2 separate regions of the Homo sapiens genome follow, and region 1 is linked to region 2. The links are contacts of gene promoters, found by promoter capture Hi-C in blood cells and fetal thymus (Javierre and others, 2016). All regions are on one chromosome and are shown on one strand. The core of a region is centred on a gene start or on the middle of the fragment in contact, and the rest is flanking DNA. Distances in the headings are between cores, read along the strand shown. Region 1 overlaps ARMCX5-GPRASP2 (ARMCX5-GPRASP2 readthrough). Region 2 holds the start of ARMCX5 (armadillo repeat containing X-linked 5).

Region 1 (4,958 bases), core at 2,438-4,937, 240 kb after region 2:
TCTATGTTATTCAGAGTATTCTGATAGTTCCTATTACTCACATTCTGTGGATGAAATCTTTTCAAAGTCTGTGCACTACAAAAGGGCACAGTTCCCATAGCTGTTTGTACTGGTGAGCAGAATGTGTTCCTCCTAGGAGAATTCTGGTATTGTGATAACAGAACATGATTATTGTATAAGAGAGAGTTCGTGTGTGCTGACAACTACGTTTCTCTCTTCCTTCTGCCCCTTTATGGCCTTAGGTTTCATTTGGTCTCTAAATTCAGGCTCTGCAGTGAAGGAAGGGAATTATCAGGATGACAGGCCTTAACACTGGATCCCCATCAACATCTTCCACTATGTCCCGAAGATAAACTTCTAAAAGAGAATTGTTGGTGCAAAAGGTGTATACCTACGTAACCCTTTGCTAGGTATTGCCATACTGACACCCATAAAGGTAGTTCCGTTTAGGCTTCCCAAGTGGAGTCATGTGGCTGCAGAGGAATGAAGAAACTAGTAATGTTGACATCTAGTCACACAAGGCAGGCACTGGACTTTGTCATGGATCAACTCTCAAGCCACTACCATAATTGGAGGATGTGGAAGTGATCAGAAGTTACCAATTTTGCACACAAGCAAAACCCAAGGTAGCATGAGGGGAAAGGGCACAGTCATTGCTTGGAGGAACACAGGAAAGAGTTAGCAGATTGGGATATAGCAACAGTTGTATACATTCACGTTTATATGAAGCAGGTACGTCAAATCAATGTCAGAAGACCAGATCAATATCATATTTTTTAACAGCTTTCTTGCAGCTAAACCTACAGACAATATAATTTACGCATTTAAAGGGCATAATTTGATGAATTTTATTAAATGTATAGCATTGTTCAACCATCCCATAACTAAGTTTTAGACATTTCCATCACTCCAAAAAGTCTCATCATGCTTGAATGCAATTAATCCTTGCTCCCACCCCAAGCCTCAAACCACAGATATGCTTGGTGTCTCTGTGGATTTCTTTACTCCAGAAATTTCATGTAAATGCAATTATATAATATTTGGTCTTTTGCATATATCTACTTTCACTTCACATATGTTTTGAAGGTTCATCTATATTATGGCATATCCATACTTCATTCCTTTTATTGGCAAAGAATAATCGTAATATATCACATTTTAAACACATTAATCAATTAGTGGACATTTGGGTTGCTGCCAGTTTTGGGCTATTGCAAATAAGGTTGCTATGTACATTTGTGTACAAGTTTTTATGTAGATAAATGTGTTGATCTTGGGTGTGTACCTAGGAATGGAATTGCTGGGTCATATGATAACTCTATCCATGTGAGGAACTGCCAGATGATTTTCATGACTGATTGTCTTGAGAAATACAGACTTAGTTTTTCTTGTGATTAGACTAGTGTTAAAGGTTTTGAGAAAGAATGCCACAGAGTTGAAGTGCCCTTCTTGTCACATCATATCTGGGTTTACATAATGCCCACATGAAGTCACTGGTGATAATGTTTCATCACTTGGTGAAAGTGGTGTCTGTCAAGTTTCTAATAACCATTTTTCATTCCCTACTCTGTTCTTTAGGAGAAAGTCACAAAATCAGCCCTACCCTCAGCAAGTGGGGTGCAAAATTAAGCTTGACCTCAGGGAGAGCAGATAGCTACATATTTCACTTAGAATTATTTGAAAAAGACAATTTTCCTTCTCTCACCTATTTCTTTATTAATTCAAACTTTTGTTTATATTGGTATGGATTCATGTATACCTATGTTAAATGCTGGGATATTTTATTGAACAAATGCATCACAATAGAAACTCCAACATCTTGGTATCTGTGGTGCAGACTGGAACATGAGTGCCAGGGAGATTGGAGCACTCAGATTCCTGGCAGCCTCAGGGCACAAAGCTTTAATGAAACTCCAGGTTCTATTACCGAGCAGGCATTAACAACATAGTTCCCCTGATTTACTTAACCTCTCCTAACTTCCTATAACCTGACCTAAACTATGGATTTCACAATAGGTTACCTGGATGAAGGTGAAGGTTAAAGGATATACAACTTAGAGTATGATATGATTACAATTTTAAAAACATTAATATCATCTCTCCCAGAAGAAATACCTGTTGTCTGACTGAGCCCCTGTCTGCCATCTTAAAAGACAGTCAGTTCACATGGTTCCCATACACAGGTCTCTTGGCCCTAGGGGCAGGATTTCATCATTATCCTCATCATCACCAAGAGGGGTTGTTGAGTGAGCATCCATGAGGGATTGTAAAGTGACTAGTCCCTAAGCCTTGGTGGCTCATCATCCGCAGAAGTCCCCGAGTACATGCAATGTTTCTTAACTTTCTTTCATTATTTATGATCCAAAGGAGGCTTTTTAGACATTCATTTTTTTTCTCGTTAGCTCCTTCCTGCCTGGAACATGAAATTTTAATAGCACAGATATAGTGTTAACTGTTTGTGTGCTGTGTGGTTCATTGTAGTGCCACAAACCATTGTAACGTCTACCATCTCCCCACCCTCCAGAATCAATTTTCAGCCCCTTGGGGACAATATCTCCTTTATTGAGAATGCATGGACATTGTGATGATGGCAAAAGCTGTAACTTCATTCCTGTCCCTTACTTGATGTATGACACTGGAATCCTTTCTTAGCCTCTGTCAGCCTGTTCTTGGTCATCTGTAAAAGGAACTCACAATGCCTTCCTCACAGAACTGTTCTGTGGGGTAAATTGGAAATCCTGTACAGAGTAGATGGCACCTAGTAGGACTTCAACAAATGTTTGTCCTGGCCCACCTTTTCCTTCCCTCTCAGAGAAATGATGACTGTCACCTAATCCAACCAGCATAACTGCCACAAAGACCACCAGGAAATGGAGCAGGAAGTAGAACATTGTGAATGAAGCACTGGGGCCATTTCTGTGTTGCAGGAGAACTTTGCTGAAGGATTGAGGGAGACTGAAGAAGCTCATTGAACCATTTTCTTTAATTCCTTGTCATTTTCTCCTCCCTTGTTTGATCTTCTAGATTGATATTGGAAAAGCAGTTTCCCATTGAGTCTCAAATGAAGAGAGTGCAGATGAAGAGGAGGTAGGAGTCACAAGCCCTTGACCCTCATGCTAGACCCATTACCACCCACAGGACCTTGCAGTGGGATTTCATCTGCACCATCAGCTTCTTCAGAGAGAGAGGTTGTTGAGTGAGTACGCATAAGGGCATAATCCTAGCAACATAAAAAAACGACAAGTGTTTAAGTCCTAGATGGTCATCATCTCTAAAAGGAGATCATATGTTGTCCTTTGAGGAGAGTAAGAGTTACATCCCCACTCCTGATCATTACTAGATGCCTCTGCAAAATTGATTTTCCATCAGTGAGTCTGAGTTGGTAATCTGTAAACTGGAAATAATGATGCCTTCCTCACAGACTTCTTGTGAGAGAATTACACAAGGCATACAATTGTTTCCATACTTTTAGCTAAGTTAGTGCTGTTATCCAGCTTTTCATCCTCTGAAGATAATGTTTCTGAGATTTCTCTAATAAGATGACTTTGGGATTGTTTTGATATGACTAGACATGTTGTTGTGACCATGCTTGTATACCTTTTCTGGTGCAACATGTGTGTTTCTCTCTATAGTCCGTGATTAAGAGAGTAGCATCTGATGGGGGCCTCATTTTGTTTTCTCATAGATGTTGACAAATGTCTCTGCAAAGACATTGTACCAATTTGTTCTTCCCCATTAGTGTATGAAGTTCTTTTCACCTACATTTTCCATTTAAATGGGATGTAGTGTAAACACACACTATCAGTCATCAGGGTTTATTTCTAAACTCAATAATTATTCTATGATATATTCTGAGGCATAAATGTAAACTATGTCATTTATTTAAAAATGTGATAAAAAAATGAAAAGGAATCTAACATTATAACGCCAGGATATCAGATCAGCAGCAAATATTTAAAAAGTCTTATGAAACTTATTTGTTCAAATCTGTAAAAGCAGGTGCTCTCTTCTCATAGTTGGTTGGGATACATATTAATAAAAGGATTGTACAGTTCAATTAGACAGTACAGCAATGTTAAATTTTCATGCTTTTTGAGGAAACAGTTACACTTGTGGGAATTTAGCCTCCTGATATAGCAGGAAGAGCTCTGGCAGTCATCACTCATCTGTCCACATGACTCAGGAAGCTGCCCATTTTCTTTGCTGACTCAGAGCCTTCAAGTCCCCTCTTCCTGAGGCACTGTTTTACAATGTAGGTTTTATTATTTAGGATAGTGAGGCCAAGGGATCAGGAGACAACTGCCATTAAGGAGATAGTTTATTACTCAAAGTTCCCAAGAGGGGGCGCTCTCCATTCCACATAAGTCCACTCAGAGTCCACCAATTTAGGCAGGAGGTAAACGTGGCAAAAGCCTTTATTGTGGTTTTCCGTGGTAAATGACAGACAAGGCAGGATAATTAGGCTTAGGACTGACTACTCGGAATAATTTCAGTAGGTTCTGTGGTGCAGGGGCTGTCCTAAGTTGTCTGGAATTGTTACTGGAAAGAGGTTCTGATCCAGACCCCAAGAGAAGGTTGTTGGATCTCACTCAGGAAAGAATTTGGGGCAGGTCCATAGAGTAAAGTGAAAGCAAGTTTATTTAGAAAGTAAAAGAATAAAAAAATGGCTACTCCATAGGTAGAGCAGCCCCGAGGGCTGCTGGTTGCCCATTTTTATGGATATTTCTTGATTATATGCTAAACATGGGGGTGGATTATTCATGAGTTTTCCGGGAAAGGTGTGGGCAGTTCCCAGAACTGAAGGTTTCTCCTCATTTTATACCATATAGGGTAACTTCCTGATGTTGTCATGGCATTTGTAAACTGTCTTGATGCTTGTGGGAGTGTCTTTTAGCATGCTAATGCATTATAATAGCAGTGTGGACAACCAGAGGTCACTTTCATAGCCATTTTGGTTT
Region 2 (4,962 bases), core at 1,890-4,389:
GCATAAATAGAATATAAATTATTTATAAGTGCATATATATATGCACACATATATACATACATACATACACACAAAAAAGGTGTAGGAAAATATTTATGATCTATATTGAAGACATGGGGTTAGTATGCTTGGCATACAAAGATCTCTTAACAAATAGAGAAATTGGCAAATAATAACAGAATGCACAAAGAACTATGTAAATATACAATAAATATTTGAAAATATGCTCAACCAAATGAAATGGCAAATAAAAATCCAGAGATATCATAATAAGGAAAAGAGGTAAGGTAATATATTACTCAGAGGGTAATCACGATTTTGCAAAGAAATGTATTTTACATGTTTATACATTGGAGTGTTTTGATATCTGAGAATACATTACAGAAAGAGAAACAATCTGAAGAATATGCACCAAGTGATTAATAGTGAATGGATAATTAAGTACCTAAAATTGCTACTAACAATTGCTAACATGTGTTGGATCTTTCAGCTCTCAAGCAATGCCGTGAGGTGTACTTAGAGAAAGCATTAAGTCACTTTTCTTTTTGGTAGAATGTAAGATTAGAAGTATGAGTATTCCTTTAACAATAAAAATCAACTTGAATCTCCAATGGGCTTTCTGGCTAAAAGTTGAAGGCCAAGTAAAAATCTTGGAGCAAGGGCATTTTTTTTTCTCCTTGCTTCAACTTACTGTTCATAGCGCCTGCCACCCAAAAAAGAGAAATGAAGCCTGGCGCTAATAATATACTTAGGTTATTCTCTGATATCCTCATTTTTTAAGGTGTATATAAGATACCTTTTCTGCTTTGGATCTTTCAAATGTCTGAAATGTTCCTAAGATAATTACATAAGTCATAAAACAGCAGTTATTATGAAAATGAATGATGATTTTAAAATTTTATCAGTTGATAGACATACTTTAGCAGTAAGATCATTACTCAAGGGGAACTACAAACCACTGCTCAAGGAAATCAAAGAGGAAACAAGCAGATAGAAAAACATTCCATGCTCATGGATAGGAAGAATCAATATCGTGAAAATGGCCATACTGCCCAAAGTAATTTATAGATTCAATGCTATTCCCATCAAACTACCATTGACATTTCTCACCGAATTAGAAGAAACTATTTTAAAATTCACGCAGAGCCAAAAAAGAGCTCGTATAGCCAAGACAATCCTAAGTAAAAAGAACAAAGCTGGAGGCATCACACTACCTGACTTCAAACTATACTACAAGGCTACAGTAACCTTGTAGAACAGCATGGTTCTGGTACAAAAACAGACACATAGACCAGTCGAACAGAATAGAGAACTCAGAAATAAGACTGCACATATACAGCTATTTGATCTTCGACAAACCTGACAAAAACAAGCAATGGGGAAAGGATTACCTATTTAATAAATGGTGCTGGGAAAACTGGCTAGCCATATGTAGAAAACTGAAACTTGACCCCTTGCTTACACCTTATACAAAATTTAACTCAAGATGGATTAAAGACTTAAATGTCAAACTCAAAACTATAAAAACCCTGGAAGAAAATTTAGGCAATACCATTCAGGACACAGGCACAGGCAAATTGCCAAAAGCAATTGCAACAAAAGCAAAATTTGACAAATGGGATCTAATTAAACTAAAGAGCTTCTGCACAGAAAAAGAAACTATCATCCGAGTGAACAGGTAACCTACAGAAGAGAAAATTTTTGCAGTCTATCTATCTGACAAAGGTCTAATATCCAGAATCTACAAGGAACTTACATTTACGAGAAAAAAACAAACAACCCCATTAAAAAGTGGGCAAAGGACATGAACAGACACTTCTCAAAAGAAGACATTTATGTGGCCAACAAACACATGGAAAAAAGCTCAACATCACTGATCATTAGAGAAATGCAAATCAAAATCACAATGAGATACCATCTCACACCAGTCATAACGGCAATTAATACAAAGTTAAGAAACAAGAGATGCTGGCAAAGTTGCAGAGAAATGGGAACGCTTTTACATTGGTGGGAATGTAAATTAGTTCAACCATTGTGGAAGACGGTGTGGCAATTCCTCAAATATCTAGAACCAGAAATACCATTTGACCCAGCAATCCCATTACTGGGTATATACCCAAAGGAATATAAATCATTCTATTACAAAGATACACGCACACGTATATTCATTGCCGCACTATTCACAATAGCAAAGACGTGGCATCAACCCAAATGCCCATCAGTGATAACATTAAGAAAATGTGGTGCATATACACCATGAAATACCATGCAGCCATAATAAAGAATGAGATCATGTCCTTTGTAGGGACATGGATCGAGCTGGAAGCCATTATCCTCAGCAAACTAATGCAGCAACAGAAAACAAATACTGCATGTTCTCCCTTATAAGTGGAAGCTGAACAATGAGAACACATGTACACAGGGAGGGGAAAAACACGCACTGGGACCTGTCAGGGGTTGTGGGGGGCGGTGAGGGAAAGCCTTAGGAAAAATAGCTAATGCATGCCAGGCTTAATACCTAGGTCATAGGTTGATTGGTGCAGCAAGCCACCACGGCACACGTTTGCCTATTTAACAAACACGCACATCCTGCACATGTATCCTAGAACTTAAAAAAAAAAAAAAGAAAATGAAAATTAAGGGCTGGGAGGGAGGACTCGAAGGAACACAAAGTTTGTGGAATCGATTAGTATGTATCCTCCTATCTCAGTCTTGACTCTCTTTGCTGACTTTCCTACCCTGGGCCCCACCCCGAGACCGCCCATTTCAGTGGGCCTCTGTGTTTGGAGAACGAACTTCGAAAGACTGGAACACTTCCGCCTGTCAGGCCAGAAGAGATTTCCTGACACCACAGCTGGAAACCCATGTGCATTTCAGTTCAGGAAAGAATGGTAGGCTTGGTGGGGGGAGCTCCCGCAAAAGGGGAACTAATACAGAAACACTCTGGTATTTGTCTGCCTCTCTTGTTCCAGCGCCGTTTTCCCTATATCCGGAATTCGTCCCTGCGCATTCCAATACCTGAAGCGGCCACAGGGTACAGGACAGGGAGCCCTCCGACAGAAAAGAGTCGCGGCGCTAAACAAAGCCTGATATCACTCCGCTTCCATAAGCCGGATCCCCATAAACTACGCTCTAGCTCCTCCCACTGCCGTTGTGGGTAACGCGGACGTGGAAGAACCTCGTCTGCGGAGGAAAAGGTAGATGTTAAATGGTAACTACGCGCGAGGTTCTGAGGAGCCCTGGGAACAGGAAGGAGAAAAGAATACCAAAAGTGACAACAGTTTGCCAATCGCAGTCTTTAATCTGATAAAGCGGTTATCTCGTCTTGAGTCCCAGGTGCCGAGTCAATCCCCATACACAGCCGCCGCCATTGCCTCGAGTCCTTGTGTCTGACTGTCTGTTCCTGCTGCTGTATGACACAGCACCTCGAGGCAAGGAAATAAGAAAACTGCCTCTGATCCAAGCAGAGAAGGTCAGTGAGAAGGTGCGCATCGCTTGGGGGTGGATGTGGGTATCAGAGGTGAACACTGGATACGCGACCTGGTCATGGGAGGCGGGCGGTGAGAAGGAGAGAGAGATGGGTAATTGGAATGGCACACAACAATTAAAAAAAAATGATCTACCTTTTGCTAGCTTGATTTCCATACACTCGGTTCACCTCAGACCATGCTTGGGAAGAAAAAGGTTGCAGCTTCTAGCAGGGAAAAGGCAGACTAGATGAGGAAGAGAGGGCTACTTCCACAGGCGAGGACAGTTGTCTGGGGAGCCCTGAGAGGGAGAGAATGTAAAAAGAGGTTGTAAATGTTTGATAATCAAGGCTCTGGATTTGAAAAGGGTCTCATGTCTTGGTTACTGGTCTGACCATTAATAACCACGTCTCTCTCTCTGTCTTTTCATTTGTTCTTTGGGTGTGTATCACGCGTTTTTATGTGTAAATCTGTTCCTAAGTTTGCAGCACTCCATGTTTCTGTAAAGATCTGTAGGGGACAGCAGACCTCAAGGGGAGAGGAGAAGGAAAAGAAAATTGGCCTGGTTTGTACAGAGTGGGCAGTACTTGGGAGGCAGTACTTGGAGGTGGTAGATGGCTAAGATTAGAGTAGGCAGGAGTGTAAGGGAGCCTCCAGAACTCTCTGCCAGCTTTCCTAACATGTCCTCCCTTACCCGCATTATGTTGCAGAAAATGATAGGCTTTGGGAGAGAGGAAGGAAACATAGGAACCCAGATGAAATATGGAAATAAATACTTTTCATTTTTTCCCCAGCCTCCGTGGTTTGTCTAGGCATTTCGTCCCTACTAACACCACTACTACTACCTTGTAGGGATGTTTGAGTTGTCTCTGTATAGGAATTGTCAGACTTTGAGAATAGAGCAGAGGGGCTTGGAGATTTAGGAGTGGGAGAAAAAGGGGAGATAGAAAATGTTTGCCAAACAGGTACTTATATCCAGAAAGAAACTGTGCCCTAGGTGCTGGTCTCTACCAAAAACAGCCTCAACTGTCTCCTGTGTCTTCATTTATTGGTCTCTGTTTTTGTGAATCCCTGTAGGTAGATCTGTCCCCAGGTCTGTGGAACTGTCAGTTGTGAAGTTTTGTAAAATGGTCACCCAACTTAAAACTAGGAAATTACGAAGAAGAGAAAATTGCCCTGTATCTGTTAAGGTTGGTGTAAAGGTACAGGGACAGGGGGGCAACTTCGACTAGAGAATTCCATCTCTTCTGTTTTGTCATTTTACCAATTATTCCCATCTGCCCCACCCCCTGCTGCTGCTGATTTAGTTGGGAGTCTTGGTAAGTTGTGGGGGTACAGAATGCTAAGCTGCCTTTCCCACTCTCCACTGCTTGTCCTGCTCTCACGCTTGAACCTAGTCTAATCTGAACGAGGGACATTCTAGGGCAATCACTGAAGAGGAAGATGGTGGGCAATAGGAAGGAGGAGGAGGAGTAGCCCTGAAACAAAGCAGTGG

The links. Contacts are between HindIII fragments. The CHiCAGO score rates a contact against its expected background, and 5 or more counts as called.
Region 1: a fragment that was not itself captured here is called in contact with the fragment with the promoter of ARMCX5 in region 2 in 3 of 17 cell types (megakaryocytes, M1 macrophages and endothelial precursors); the score reaches 6.2 in megakaryocytes.

The regions. Positions count from the first base shown.
Region 1 is chrX:102,836,777-102,841,734 of GRCh38, forward strand. It overlaps ARMCX5-GPRASP2 (ARMCX5-GPRASP2 readthrough), which reads left to right. Exons shown (of 19, transcript NR_146584.3): 11 at 3,025-3,196. All of the region lies in intron 2 of LINC00630 (long intergenic non-protein coding RNA 630), which reads left to right. Among named protein-coding and RNA genes, the nearest start is that of LINC00630, 70 kb to the left of the region's middle. The HindIII fragment of the contact is 3,579 bases long and covers 1,899-4,958 here.
Region 2 is chrX:102,596,376-102,601,337 of GRCh38, forward strand. ARMCX5 (armadillo repeat containing X-linked 5) reads left to right here and starts at 3,140. Exons shown (of 4, transcript NM_001168478.2): 1 at 3,140-3,472; 2 at 4,545-4,657. ARMCX5-GPRASP2 (ARMCX5-GPRASP2 readthrough) reads left to right here and starts at 3,140. Exons shown (of 19, transcript NR_146584.3): 1 at 3,140-3,472. RefSeq lists enhancers at 3,186-3,957, 3,390-3,439. The HindIII fragment of the contact is 9,703 bases long and covers 1-4,962 here.